Linked DNA regions of Homo sapiens: region 2 is linked to region 1. The links are contacts of gene promoters, found by promoter capture Hi-C in blood cells and fetal thymus (Javierre and others, 2016). All regions are on one chromosome and are shown on one strand. The core of a region is centred on a gene start or on the middle of the fragment in contact, and the rest is flanking DNA. Distances in the headings are between cores, read along the strand shown.

Region 1 (7,555 bases), core at 4,824-7,323:
TGCAGCTTTTTTTTTTTTTTTTTAAGACGGACTCTGGCTCTTGTTGCCCAGACTGGGGTGCAATGGCGCAATCTTGGCTCACCATAACCTCCGCCTCCTGGGTTCAAGCGATTCTCCTGCGTCAGCCTCCCAAGTAGGTGGGATTACAGGCATGCGCCACCTCGCCTGGCTAATTTTGTATTTTTAGTAGAGACCGGGTTTCTCCACGTTCATCAGGCTGGTCTCAAATTCCTTCACCTCCCAAAGTGCTGGGATTACAGGTGTGAGCCACTGTGCACAGCCTAATGCAGATTTTATAAACAATAACCTTGTCCATTAAAGCAAACCTGCAGACTCGAGGTCTGATAAACCTGGAGGTTGGATAATTCAAGTGTAGCACAGTCATGCCATGGAATATTACACACCAGAGAAAAGAAGACACGACGCCATTTTTAGAAAGCTCAAAACAAGTGAAACCAAACGATATCGTGTATAGCAGGGGTCCTCAACCCCTGGACCACAGACTGGTACTGGCTAGTGGCCCATTAGGAACCAGGCCGCACAGCAGGAGGTGAGTCGTGGGTGAGCAAGCGAAACTTCACCTGTATTTACAACTGCTCCCCATGGCTCACAGTACTGCCTGAGCTCCGCCTCCTGTCAGATCAGCGGCAGCATTAGAGTCTCATAGGAGCACAAACCCTGCTGTGAACTATGCATGTGAGGGATCTAGGTTGCACACTCCTTATGAGAATCTAATGCCTGTCTCTTATCACCCCCAGATGGGGCCGTCTAGTTGCAGGAAAACAAGCTCAGGGCTCCCACTGATTCTACATGATGGTGAGTTTCATAATTATTTCATTATATATTATAAGGCAATAAGAATAGAAATAAAGTGCACAATAAATGTAATGCGCTTGAATCAGCCCAAAACCATCCCCCCACCTCCCCCTACCCATGGAAAAATTGTCTTCCATGAAACTGGTCCTTGGTGCCAAAAAGCTTGGAGACCTCTGGTGTATAGGGTTACATGTTGTACTCACCTTATAAGAAGTGGCAGAAAGCAAGTTTAGTGATAAAACTAGCTAAAAAACAAAGCAAGGGTATAACAAACACAAAAATCACAATGTAGTTAACTCTGGGATAGCCAATAGTTTCCCTGGTGTTCATCTTATTATTTTATTATGTAGGTGCCCCTTGATTCTGGGTATTTTTGTATGTATCAAATATTACATAATTAAAAGCCAGCCAAAGCCAGCTATCATGACTGCACTCTCATTACTCACGCCCCGGGCCTGCAAGCTGTGGTGTGGTTTCCAGGTTCCCCGTGAGCATCGCCGCAGCGACCGCCCACAGCACCAGCTGCTGATGGCTCACACCTCCTGGGGCTGCAAGGCCTGTCCCTGGCTCTGGCAGCGAGATGACAGGGCTGTTGCCCCGGCAGGGTGAGGCCAAAGGTTAGAGGTGATCATTCTTTCTGCTGGCACACTGAGGCCCCTTGTGGATCCCCGTTTCTGGGTTTCTGTCTCCCCCTTCAACCTGCCCATCGGCTTCAGACAGTGGATCTCCACTTCCCTGTGGGGCTGTTCACCAGGATGCTCACCTGCCCAATCCCAGCCCCTCCACCTTCCTTCAGCTCATTCATTCATTCAACCTGTATTGACTGAGTACTCACCATGCATCAGGCACCGTTCTCAGTGCTGGGAAATGCTGTTGTGAACAGAACCACACACAAATCCCTGCCCTCCTGGGGCTTTTGCTCTAGTGAGGGGAGGCAGATAATACACACTCAGTTAATAACCATAGATCAGGTGGGACAAGAAGAAAACTACAGCAGGGTGAGGGGGTAAGGGTGAAGGGAATGAGGGGGAGCAAAGGTGGACAGAGTGGTCGGGGAAGGTCTCTGTGAGGATGTGACCTCCCTCACTGCCTTCAGAAGGAAGGTAGAGAGGGACCACATGGGTTTCTGGGGAAGAACCTTCCAGGCCAGGTGAGGGAGGAGAAAGGGCAAAGTTATGACCCCTCCTCCCACCAGTGTCTCCTTCCCCTAAGCTCTCTCCATCCTACCCTGGCCACAATCCCTCTCTCATTCTCTCTCTCTGTTTTCTCTCTCACGCCCGCTCCCTTGCTGCTCACCTCTTCCCTTATTCTGATTGCACAGGGAATCCAGGCTTTCGGAGATGAGGACTGGGAGGTCTCCAGACCACACAAGCCCCCTATTTGCACTGGCCTTTGGAATGAGCCTACAGCCTGCCTCCACTCCTCCTGGTACCCCAGCTGTTCTCAAGGAATTGGCCAGAAGTCAGACTCCTTTCCCAGCTGTCCTCCACTTCTTTCCTGCCAGGCACCCTAGGCCCCATGGTGGGATTGGGCCTATAGGCTGTGATTTTCCACATCCTTGTCAAACCTGTACTACCTGAATGCCTAGAGGAAAAGATACTGCCTTAATTACTATTATGAGCACGAATGCCTTCTTACTCTTGAATTTAGCTGAGTGCTGCCTGCAGGTAAAGTCACCTGGAGAACCATCCAGGGACTTTGTCCTCATAGGATCACTTGTACCTCTCTAGGGTTGCTGTGGCAGCTGCCAGAGTGGCCCGGGCCATGGATGAGGGCCAGGATATGGAAAGCAGAGGCAGAAATGAGCCCAGAGGCCACAGGGCCCAGCTCTCAGGCTCCCACGGTGAAGCCCAGAGGGTTCCTTCTCTCTCCTGCTTCAGGCTGACAATGTTTGTCAGCCTCTGCTCCCAACCCCTATACCCAGCAACCTCTGCGCCCAAGCACATGGTCTGAAGAATATTCTGGTGTTGGGCCCCTGTAGGTGGCCTGCCGTGACGGTGGAAGCCTGGAACGTAGTGACATGGATTCATCATTGGGATGTTTCATCCTAAGGAAACGCACTCGCAGGTGGCTGTAGACCTTGGGGACTCCAGCCTCGTTCATTTAAGCTCCCACAATGTTCCAGGCCCTATGCGGCTTGCAAGGGGCAGAGAGACACAGAATGACAGCCGACATGGCACTCTATTGGTGCACTGGCACTGTTTTTTTTTTTGAGATGGAGTCTTGCTCTGTCACCCAGGCTGGAGTGCAGTGGCATGATGGAGATGCAACCTCTACCTCATGGGTTCAAGCGATTCTCCTGCCTCAGCCTCCCGAGTAGCTGGGACTACAGGTGCCCACCACCATGCCCGGCTAATTTTTTTGTATTTTTAGTAGAGACAGGGTTTCACCATGTTAGCCAGAAAGGTCTCGATCTTCTGACCTCGTGATCCACCCAAACTGCTGGGATTACAGGCGTGAGCCACAGAGCCTGGCATGCTGGCACTGTTCTCTGTGCCCTACCTGTATTTCCTCATTTCCTCCTCAACGAGCTCCAGGGGGAGGTATCACAGCCAAGAAATGGAGGCCTGGGGATGTTAAATGCCATGGCCCAGGCAGCATCCGTCCTCATGAAGCCACCTTATCAGGTAGGGAGGCAGACAGGTGGCCCTCATCATTTACCTTCCAGTGTGGCAACTGAGGCAGTGTATGCGTTAGTCATGATTAAGACCCTGCCCCTTCCCAGAGGGAGATGGCAAGTGCTGTCACACAAGGTCTGTCAGATGTTGAGCAAGGCTGCCCAGTAACCTTTGGCCCGTGTCTGAAAGAAGGCACAGGAATCTGTCTCCTGGTCCAGATGGAGAACATTCCCAGCAAATCTGGAGAGGCAGACTGGAGTTGGGAGAACAGGAGGGTGTCAGGAGAGAGGAAACATCTCCTGTGGAGATTTCTTCTCCTTCCCTTCCTGCTCCCTCTTGGTGGGAGCTAAGGGCCAGGGCACTAAAGGGTCCCCTGTTGAAACTCTAACGTTCTAGTTCCCCTTTCCCTGGGCTGTTCACAGTGTCCAGGGCCTGTCAGCTCAACTTCCATCACCTTGGCAGTCCCTGAGGCACCTGAAAGTGATACTGGTCACATCAGAACACATCTCCTTATCTTTCCTCCTCACCTCTCTTAAATGTCTGTGATTCAGCCTCCTCATTGGTAAACTGAGGTCCACAGTGTGTGTTCTTCATCAACTCCGGTGGTGGGGGAGTTGTGGTGGGGATAAGAACCTGCGTGTGACTGCTCTTGGAAAGTTGGAGTAAGGGCACCCAGAAGGAATGACGACGACCCCTCAGTGCCTCCTTGTGACTGCGGGCGGGCTACGGAACCTTCCAGACTGACCGCTTCACTCTCAAATGCAGGACCCAGAATCCAACACTGCCACCACCACAGCTATTTCCCTGGCAGTATTCTCAACACTGCAGTCACAGTGATAGTCCAAAGTGTAGGTCTGATCATGCCACTCTTCCGTGAAAAGCCCTGCAGGGCTGCTCCATGTCACCAGAGTAAAAGTCAAAGTTTTTTTTTTTTTTTTTGAGACGGAGTCTCTCTCTGTTGCCCAGGCTGGAGTGCAGTGCTGCCATCTCAGCTCACTGCAAACTCCGCCTCCCGGGTTCACACCATTCTCCTGCCTCAGCCTCCCCAGCAGCTGGGACTACAGGCGCCTGCCACCACGCCCGGCTAATTTTTAAAAATATTTTTAGTAGAGACGGGTTTCACCATGTTAGCTAGGACGGTCTCGATCTTCTGACCTCGTGATCCGCCCACCTCGGCCTCCCAAAGTGCTGGGATTACAGGCGTGAGCCACCGTGCCCAGCCAAAAGCCAAGGTCTTATAATGGCCCACCAGGCACTACACAGAACTCCCCCCAACCTCTCAGAGTTCATCTCCTGCCTCGGCCCCTCTCCTTCGCTCCACCCAGCCCCTCTGGCCTCTGCCATTTCTCCATCCCACCCAGTGTGCTCTAACCCCAGAGCCTTCGCACTTGTGGTGTTCTCTGCCTGGGATACTCCTCCCCCAGAGATATCCTCATGGCTCCCCCTTAGTTTCTTCAAGTCTAATGCCACCTCCGTGAGGCCATCCCTGACTGCTCCATTTTAAATGGCAACACTTGCTCAGGCTGAAGTGCGTTCACTGCTCACTGCAGCCTCCACCTTCTGGGCTCAAGCAATCATCCTGCCTCAGCCTCCTGAGTAGCTGGGATTACAGGCATGAGCCACCCGCCTGTCCCAACTCTTTATGTTCCTCACTGAACCCTTCCCTGTTTCTTCAAATAGCCATTTTTACAGTCTAGTTTACTATTTTATTTTGCTTATTTTTCCCCCAAACTGGAATGTAAGCTCTCTCAAGCCAGGAATTTTGTTTTTTTAGCTCACAATTCTATCTCTGGCACCTAAAGCAGCGCCCAGCACATAGTAGGTGATCACTAGACAGTTGATTCACTGAGAGAACACAGAGGGACACCTCCCTAGGTCTCAGTCTAGGTGGCCAAGACAGGAGGCCCCACCAGTGACTGTGCCTTCCCCTCAGGGGGTCCGAGAGCTGGCGTGTGAGAGTGGCAGCCCCTGCCTGGCTCCGCTCAGCCATCTAGGGCACCCCTGGCAGGTGCTGTGCCTTGCCTGGGATGGAGGAGTCTCCGTCCACCTCTGGCTGGGTAGGGGCTAAGGCTGCGGGGCAGAGGGGCATCTGCTAAGGGGCACAGGCCAACCGGGCCCCAGGGAACCGCTGGCCACCTGAGATGGCAGGACAAACTCGGGCAGGCCTCCCCCCACCCCTCACACCTGGCTCACTGGTCCCACCGGGCGGTGACCTTCCCCAGGGTCACTGCCCTTTCTTGGCCCTACTCCTGGGGATCCAACCCGCTCCCAGGCTGTCGCTAGCTCCCTCCCGATCCTCTCCCTCCCCTTCATCCTGCCCAGACCCCTACCCCACCAGACCCCTCACCCGCCCTTGGTCAGATCTCTCTCCTACCCCGCTCCCCCACCCCCATCCCCACTTCCCCTCGGTCTTCACCCCGCCCCAGACACCCCCAGTCCCTCTCCCTGTCCTCCATGCCCACCCCGCCTTTCCTCCCTCGGGCCCCTGTCTCCCGCCCTAGCCCCCGCCCCTGCCCCAGCCCTGGCTCCGGCCCCGGTCAGTGCTGCGGCTCCGGCCCTGGCCGGCAGGGGCCGCTCCTCGCGGCGCCCGGGGCCCCGCCGCGCCCGCCGCCGCCGCCCGCCTCCCCGCCCCTTCCCCAGCCGGCGCTCCCGTTACGCCGCGGAGCCGGGAGCCGGAGCCCGAGCCCGCGGCGGCGGCGGGAGGCGGCGAGGGGGCGCCGCGGCGGCGGCGGTGGGGCCTGCGGGGCGGGCGGCCGGGCCCGGCCAGGCCGCGATGGCGACCAAGAAGGCAGGCTCGCGGCTGGAGACGGAGATCGAGCGCTGCCGCTCCGAGTGCCAGTGGGAGCGGATCCCTGAGCTCGTCAAGCAGCTGTCGGCCAAGCTCATCGCCAACGGTACGCTCCGGGCGCGCCGGCCTGGGCTGCGGGGGGCGCCGCGGCCTCCGCGGGAACGGGCCCCCGAGGCGCGGCCGGGCGCGGGGCGCGGGCAGGGGCGCGGCCGGGCCGCGAGGGAGCTGCGGCCCAGGGGATGTGCGCGGGACCGGGGCCTGGGGGAGCCCGGGTGCCCCGGAGTCACGCGGTGTGGGGGCCCGGGGGGGCGCCAGGGGCTGTCCCGGCGCCTGGGGTTCAAGCGTGCAGGGCGGGCTTCTGCGGAGTCTGGGGTGTCCGGGGGTCTCAGCGAGTCCGCTGCTCCACTGGGACCACAGGAGGTCAGGGGCCGGCCTGGGGCTTCCAAGAAGTTGGAGGTGATGGGGTGAGGGGGTCCCTCAGGACATGGGTGAAGTCCACAGTGTGTGTATGGTGTGCTCAGGGAATCAGGATGTGTTTATGGGGTCTTGAGAATGGGGTGTTGTACATAGACCCCTGGGGAATCTGGTTTGTAAACATATGGTGTTTAAGGGGTTCTGGGTGGAAGCGCAGACTCGAGGTGTGTGGGGTGGTGGTAGAAAGCAGGCTGGGATGTGCGTCCTGGCGTTCGGAGAAGTAGCATCAAGGCTGCCGACCTAGAGAGGTCAGGGTTGGGAATAGAGGAGAAATAGAGTCAGGGGGACCTGGAGGGAGAATATTGTGGAGCGAGATGGGAATGTGGTTGAAGAATGTCGGGAGATGGAGTTGGGTGGGTGAGGGGTTGGTGCCTGGGCCAGAAGGGGGTCTGAGGCAGCCTCTGAGTAGGAGCCTGGTGCCTGGAGTTGGTTCATGACCCCTTTAACTGGATTGGTTCTTGTACCCAATCAAATAAAATTGCATCCAGAATCCCATTCCAGTGCACAGCTCCACGTGGCCTTATTTGTTTTGGAAGCGAGTATCTTTAATATTTGCTTGTCTTTTAGTACCCGCCTAAAGCGCAGGCACCAGCACACCGTGGCCAGAGGGCAGAGGGTTTGTCTCATTTCATCCTGGGCTTCCCCAGGCCCAGTGAGCACATGTTGGCTGAACAAATGAATGAAAGAGTGAATGAATGGATGGCGGGGCTGCTCTAAGAAAGGACATCTGCACTATTTTCAACCTTCTCACTTCAGACTACCCAGAAAGGAGAGGGATGTCAGGTGTCCTCCTGGAGGGTGGTTTATGTTTGTGTCCTATGGTATTAGTGCCTGGAAATTAGAACTTGGTTTTGCGCAC
Region 2 (7,430 bases), core at 4,323-6,822, 510 kb after region 1:
TGCAGTGGCTCACACCTGTAATCCCTGTATTTTTAGTAGAGATGGGGTTTCACCGTGTTAGCCAGTATGGTCTCAATCTCCTGACCTTGTGATCCGCCCACCTTGGCCTCCCAAAGTGCTGAGGCGGGCGGATCGCTTGAGGTCAGGAGTTCAAGAGCAGCCTGGCTAAATTTTGTATTTTTAGTAGAGATGGGGTTTCACCATGTTGGCCAGGCTGGTGTCAAATTCCTGGCCTTAATTGATCCACCCACCTCGGCCTCTCAAAGTGCTGGGATTACAGATGTGAGCCACCACGCCTGGCCGTTAGTTGATTATTTGATAAGGATTTTATAGCAAAAGTGCCTTCATTTAGGGAAACATTGTGTTAAATTATAGCCTAGGTCCTGTATAATTATTAAGATCTCATGCTAAGTGATAAATTGGATATAACCTAAATGTCTAATGATTGGGAAATGGTTAAATAAATTATGGCACATCCATACAATGGAACAGTTTGAAGTCAATACAAATTATATTTTCTAAGATTAATGGTATGAGGAGATGCTTTAAAGTAGGAAGGCAGGCCTGAAACTATGTGATATCAACTATTTTGAAAAAGGATGTATGTGCACACACATATATATACATACTGAAACACATATAGTGTCTGAAAGTAGATAGTAATATAGGCCAGTAACATTTTTCCCCTTCCCTTATCATTTTCATCTAATTTGTTATAAAAATGCAGCTGTTAGTTTAAAGTCAGGAAACAGTAAACATTTTTCAAGAGATTTTATGAATATCTAAAATACTGTATATTTTTTGTGAGACTAATGAGGAATCAATACTATTAAAAGAGGATAAAGGAGAACAAAACTAGCTTTTTAACTTAAAGTTTGTTCCTTAGGGAATGGCAGCCTTGTTTAGAACTACATTAGTGCTATTTTTTTTTTTTTTGAGACCAAGTCTCACTCTGTTGCCCAGGCTGGAGAGCAGTGGCTTGAGCCCGGCTCACTGCAACCTCTGCCTCCTGGGTTCAAGTGATTCTCCTGCCTCAGCCTCCCAAGTAGCTGGGATTACAGTCGTGTGCCACCACGCCCAGCTAATTTTGTATAGTTAGTAGAGACGGGGTTTCACCATGTTAGCCAGACCGATCTCAAACTCCCGACCTCTGGTGATCCACCCGCCTCAGCCTCCCAAAGTGCTGGGATTACAGGCATAAGCCACCACACCCGGCCTACATTAGTGCTATTTTATCTCATCACACCTTTGTTAAGGTTGTTTTTGACTCATAAATGGAATGGCAAGAGACTGTCATGAGATAGTCTGAAAGAATTGGGAGGGAGGCTAGATAAAAGGTTTGAGAGAGAATATTTATGTCTGTGTGAGAAAATAGTCCCCTACAGTGGAATTTGCTGTGTTTGGTCAGTGAGGAGGGCAGAGGCACTTAGAGAGGGGACCTGTTGACCGCAGAGAAGCCACAGAGGTGAGGGAGAGAGCCCGGCCCTGAACCAAGGTGAAGTGGAGCGGAGCTTCCTGGGAGCTGACAGAAGATGAAGGCAGTTCTCCCCTGCCTTTTTCTCCCCACGGCATTTCCGGTTTTATTAGGAAAAAATTTTAATATACAGCAAAAGTTGAAAGATTTTTACAGTGAATGCTCGTATAACTGCCCCCTACATCTACCATTAACTTTGTATCCATTAAGTTTGTATTGTACTTGTTTTGTCATATGTGTCCATCCATCAGCCCATCCTATTTTTTTGATGCATTTCAAAGTAAACTGCAGATCAATAAACAACCCCCTAAATACTTCAGCATGTGTATTATTAACTAGAGGTCAATATTTATTTAGTTTTATTCCTTTAATTGAAAATTTACATGCAATGTAATGCACAAAGCTTCATTCTCACCCGAACCTCTGTTAAAATGTGAAATATTACTCTGACCGCCAGAAGTTTCCTCGTGCTCTTTTCTGGTAAGTCTGTACCCCATTCTCCCAGAGGCAATCACCGTTCTTACTTGTTTCCACCCTCAATTCGTTTTTACCTGTTCTAAAATGCATGTAAGTGGAATTATACAGTGTGTACTCTTTTGTATCTGGCTTCTGGCTTCTTTCACTCAGTGTAATGTTTTTGAGATCATCCGTCCATAAGGCACTTACCAGTAGCTCCTTTTTACTGCTGGTAGTATTCCATTGTATGGCTGTACCTCTGTTTACTTATCCATCTTCTATTGATGGACACGTGGACTCTTTCAGTGTTTGGCTGTTAGGAATAAAGCTGCCGAGAGCATTTGTGCTCATGTCTTTGTGTAGACATGTGCTTTCCTTTTTCTTGGGTAAATATGTAGGAATAGAATTGCTGGGTCATAGGTTAGGTCTGTGTTGAATTTTTTAAGAAACAGCCAGATCTTTTCCCAAAGTGATTATACCAGTTTACATTCCCGCTGACAGCGGATGAGAGTCCTGGTTACTCCACAGGTTACTCACCAACATTTGGTGTTGTCAGCCTTTTAAATATTAACACTGTTCTAGTTGGTGTGTGGGGTACCTCATTGTGGTTTTAATTTGCATGTCCTTGTTGACTAAGGATGTTGAGTTGTTTTTTTTTTTATGTGCTTATTGGCTATTCATGTCTTCTTTTGTGGAATTTCAGTTCAGATCTTTTGCCCGTTTTTAAAATTGAATTGTTTGCTAACATACATACAGAAAAATGTACAATTTTCCTTAGCTTTTGCCTGTGCAAATATTCAGTAGTCATGTGTTTGTTAACTCTGGGGACGCCTACATGTTCCATAAAAGCGTTTTAGAACCCAACCTCTTTTCCTCTAGAGTAGAAAATAACCAAATGTAATTTCATTTGACATACTTTGTTTCAGGATTAAAAAAAGAATCTTAGGCCTATATGTTATCTTCTTAAGTAGGGACACAGGAAAATATTGAGAAAACAGGACTGGTCTAGGAAACAGATGATCCAGGTTCCCAGGCCTCAGTGTCCTTATTTAGGAACAGTTAAGAGAAGGGATGATAATTTTTGCCTTGCCTGTCACATATGGCTGTGATGATCAAATGACATAATGTGTGTGACAGTTCTTTACAAGGCTCCAGGAAAATAGAAATTACTAAGATCTAGAAGACAGGCATGATCTTAAATTCATGAGATGTTAAAGAAGAGTTGAAGTGTTATAGGAAGAAGTCAAGCCAGGCAGAAAGAAAGTTAATTACTAGTCCTTGTGTATCTCCAAATAGAAACAATCTGAAGGTGAGGTGAATTTGGTTATATGCAGTGAACCTGCATAACGAGAGTTTAGGTCTAATGCGCCTTTAGTCATTCAGAGGTAGTACACGTATTCCCTCAGTAACTTTTTTTCTTTTTCTAATATCAGATACAAGAGGAAAGGAGACTCCTGCCTTGGCATTAACCCTAAGAAGCAGTGCATATCTTGGGAAGGGACTTCCACAGAGAAGAAGCATTCACGCAAGCAGGTTGAACGCTATTTTACTAAGAAGAGTGTGGGATTAATGAACATCGATGGAGTTGCCATTAGCAGTAAAACTGAACCTCCCTCATCTGAGCCCATCTCCTTTATACCAGTGAAGGACTTGGAAGATGCGGCTCCTGTTACAACCTGGTTGAATCCTCTGGGGATTTATGATCAGTCAACCACACATTGGCTACAAGGACAGGGTCCTCCAGAGCAGGAATCAAAGCAGCCAGACGCACAGCCAGACAGCGAGAGTGCGGCTCTCAAGGCCAAGGTGGAGGAGTTTAACAGGAGGGTGCGGGAGAATCCTCGGGATACGCAGCTGTGGATGGCATTTGTTGCTTTTCAGGTATGTGTTGCCATCCCAATTCTCTTACCTTAGAAGGACATTCCTGATTTTGGGCAAACTGATGGACTGTGCAGCAATTTTTGAGCAAATGAGGAAATTTGACACTGGGCATACAAAGATTATTAGAATAGAGCCTTTGCCCTGAGCTCGCTCAAAGTCCAATGAGGAAAATGGACATGCGAAGAATAAGTGCACCCTGGGGTAGTAAATGCTGTAATGTATAACTTGGGAGTGGAGTGAGGGAATGGCTTGTGTTGAGGGAGGAGAAAGAGCTACCAAGGAGAAGGTGAAGTTCAACACAATCTTGAAAGAAGAGATGTTCACCAGGTAGGGAGAGGCATTCCTGAAGTACAAACAGAACAGGCAGAGCTCACGGAATTGTGAAAGAGAGAGGGCTGTTCAGTGTATTACCCAGTTAGAGCCATGCATTCTCTTTCGAAAACTTGTAGGTTTGTCTGAATCCCTAATTTTGAACCACTCATACAATTACCATATTTTGTGCCACATTTGGCCCTTTTATTGGTAAGGTCTGCTCTTCAGAAAAGACTTTCAAGGCATTGTATGCTAGTCATTGATGCAGAAATCAAAGCTTAAAATGGCAGAGAGTGGATAATTAAGTGATAAATACAAGATCAAACATATCAGGTGACACAAGCACTTTAGGATCCAGGTTTTCTTTAAAAGAAATAGTGGCAAACTGGTGGTTTAAGAAAGTCCCTAGGGGGTGGTAAGAAAATCAGTAAGCATTGTTGAAACTCAGGATCTCCCAGGTCCATTTGCATTTGTAAATTGGTGTTTTTGTTGTTGAGGACGAGGTCATGAAAAGTCCTGGCCTGTATGCCATCGAGGAAGGAGAGCAGGAAAAGCGAAAGAGGTCCCTGAAGCTCATTCTGGAGAAGAAGCTGGCCATTCTGGAGCGGGCCATTGAGAGCAACCAGAGCAGTGTGGATCTGAAACTGGCCAAGCTGAAGCTCTGCACAGAGTTCTGGGAGCCCTCCACTCTGGTCAAAGAGTGGCAGAAACTGATATTTTTGCATCCCAATAATACAGCCCTTTGGCAGAAATACCTTTTATTTTGCCAGAGCCAGTTTAGTACCTTTTCGATATCAAAAATTCACAGTCTTTATGGAAAATGCTTGAGCACTTTGTCTGCTGTTAAGGACGGCAGCATCTTATCTCACCCTGCGTTGCCTGGCACGGAAGAGGCCATGTTTGGTAAGGAGATAACCAGATCCAGTTACGTGGGAGGAGTTAGACTTTCTTTTGGCTTTACTTGAAAATGAAGATCTATTTTTGATTTATTCTAGAAAAAGTCTAAATTGTTTGATAGAACTGATTTTTTTAAAAAAGTATTACGACTCTTTTTGATAACAAATTTGCCCCCAGCTCCCAGGGCAGGTGGGGGCAATAGGGCCAGTAGAGTTAAGATATCACTGGACAAGGTTCTGCTGATTAGCCAAGTAAACATAGGCAAGTCTCTTAACTGCTTTGGCAGTCGGTGGCCTTATCTGTCGAGATGCATGTACCTGTCTCACCCAATTGTAGGGTCCCAGGCAGTAATGTCCGTGAGATGCCCTGACTGGGAACCACTGCATAAATAGAAGTTTTGGGTATTATTATGCTGTTAACATTTTTGGTGTGTCCTGAAGGAACCTGGAACATTAATTTTGACAGTAATGAGATGTTGGAGGCTGCATGTTATGCAGAGCCAGAGAGTATCACTTTTGACCTTGAATCCTGAAGGGTTTGCCCTTCACTGGCTCTCTTGTGTCCTTGGGCAGGTCCTCTTTGAGCCCCAGTTTCTCCATCAGCAACAATACTATAAACCTGCTTTACAGGACTGTGTTGCACAGTAAACGAGATAATCCATGGCGAGTCTAGCTCAGTGTCCGGCACAGAGCAGGCATTTATTTGATCACAACCCCTGTTATTGAGTATTAATTACTGTTGGCATCTAAAGATAGAAATACATTGCTCTCAAAATATAAGCATTTATCACACTGACACAGAGTCTTGAATTTGTCACTGTATGTGATCTACACAAATAGCTTAGTGTTATTTAGTAGCTGGAATTGTACCAAAAGTAAGATGAACTGGAATGTTCAGACATGGAACCTTGATTTGTTTACAGCCGACTCTGAACATAGGATGAAAGTTGCTGGTGAGTAATGCCATCTAGTGATCAACTGAATACAGCTCTTTGCTTTCTGATAAAAATCTGCTACGCCATCCTTTTTCTATAATTTTTCTTGTGATAATGAGCTGTGATTATTTGATAGCATTCAGACCAACCTCTTGACTTATTTTTATGTACTATATATAGTTTTTGTTGTTAATATTTGTGTTCTGTGATGCTTTCATACAAAAATTAGAACAAACATACTTGGATTATAATACTGTGTGAGACGCTTTAAATCAAGACATGTATCACAGCTTTGTAAATTAATAGTGATTGCAGGTGAAAGGTGTTCTCAATGTGTTAATTGCCTGTTTTGAGAAGTTAGGTTCTTTCCCTTTAACGGTATCAACCAGGCTTCTTCCCCTTTGCCCTCCTGTTCGCAGCACTCTTTCTTCAGCAGTGCCACTTTCTGCGGCAGGCTGGCCACTCTGAGAAGGCCATCTCATTGTTCCAGGCCATGGTGGACTTCACCTTCTTCAAACCCGACAGCGTGAAAGATCTGCCTACCAAAGGACAGGTACCCAGCTCTGCTCGCCTCATCTCTCTCTTCCTGGCTCTTTCTCTGGAGGGAGAGGGGGAAGGTGTGGATAATGAGAGGTGGTGTGGATAATGAGAGGTGGTGTGGTAGTGTTTTTAAAATATCATATCCTCCTTTATATCAGTCTGCTGAGGAGGAATTCTCAGAAATAGTCCAGTGATCTGAGGAAAGTTTTGTAATGAAAATGGTGAGATGTGGATAGGTAAAGAAGCTTCCCCCTCCTTCACAACATAAAGGCTCTCTGAGGACTCACCCTCCCACCCTGCCTGCCTGCCTGCCTGCCTGTGTTCCTCCTTTCCTTTTCCTTTCCCTGCCCCCTTCCCCTCCCCTTCCTCCTCCCCTCCCCTCCTCCCCCCCATCCCCTTTCTGCCTTTGTTTAAATGCTGATTGGCTCCCCTAGTCAGGGAAACAGTTGTCATGCCATTTTAAACCTTGTATTACTCTCTTCCACCCTTACACATTCTAGTTTGGGTCTTGCATCACTTCCTCAGTTAACCTTCTAAGTACCCACAATCTTCGCTAGAGTTGCAAATGAAATTACACAGAGATACCTTGTCAACAGTGATCCTTATTGGGGAAGGGTTAATCCTTTAGATGACAAGCGAGCATTGCCAATGTTTGAGATAAATGAAGATAAGTGAAGAAATAAAGAATTTTTATAGAGCTATGTATATAAGAAAATGTATCTTTTCCCTTTTTCCACTAAATAAAACTCAGTTTTCTACTCTGTAAAGATGTCTAGTGGAAGATAAATAGAATATATGAGTTTATGGTGAACATTCAAAAGTGTTTCTTGAGAGGCCAAGGCCTCCGTCATGTGGGAGTTTCATGAATTGCCAGTAAAGACCATTTTTATCATGATGCTACCTCTAGAAAAAATTGGATTAAAGAATTATACCAGT

What was found. The method cuts DNA at HindIII sites, captures the fragments that hold promoters and counts their contacts. A CHiCAGO score of 5 or more calls a contact.
Region 2: a fragment that was not itself captured here is called in contact with the fragment with the promoter of TTC7B in region 1 in 4 of 17 cell types (endothelial precursors, M1 macrophages, erythroblasts and 1 more); the score reaches 8.6 in endothelial precursors.

What each region holds. Positions count from the first base shown.
Region 1 is chr14:90,814,948-90,822,502 of GRCh38, reverse strand. It overlaps TTC7B (tetratricopeptide repeat domain 7B), which reads left to right and starts at 6,073. Exons shown (of 20, transcript NM_001010854.2): 1 at 6,073-6,328. The coding sequence starts at 6,208. It overlaps LINC02321 (long intergenic non-protein coding RNA 2321), which reads left to right. Exons shown (of 4, transcript NR_184259.1): 3 at 759-816; 4 at 2,138-2,430. RefSeq lists a silencer at 5,900-6,079. The HindIII fragment of the contact is 10,969 bases long and covers 981-7,555 here.
Region 2 is chr14:90,300,316-90,307,745 of GRCh38, reverse strand. It overlaps NRDE2 (NRDE-2, necessary for RNA interference, domain containing), which reads left to right. Exons shown (of 14, transcript NM_017970.4): 5 at 3,364-3,811; 6 at 4,621-5,026; 7 at 6,374-6,507. Among named protein-coding and RNA genes, the nearest start is that of NRDE2, 28 kb to the left of the region's middle. RefSeq lists a silencer at 4,647-4,941. The HindIII fragment of the contact is 2,339 bases long and covers 4,403-6,741 here.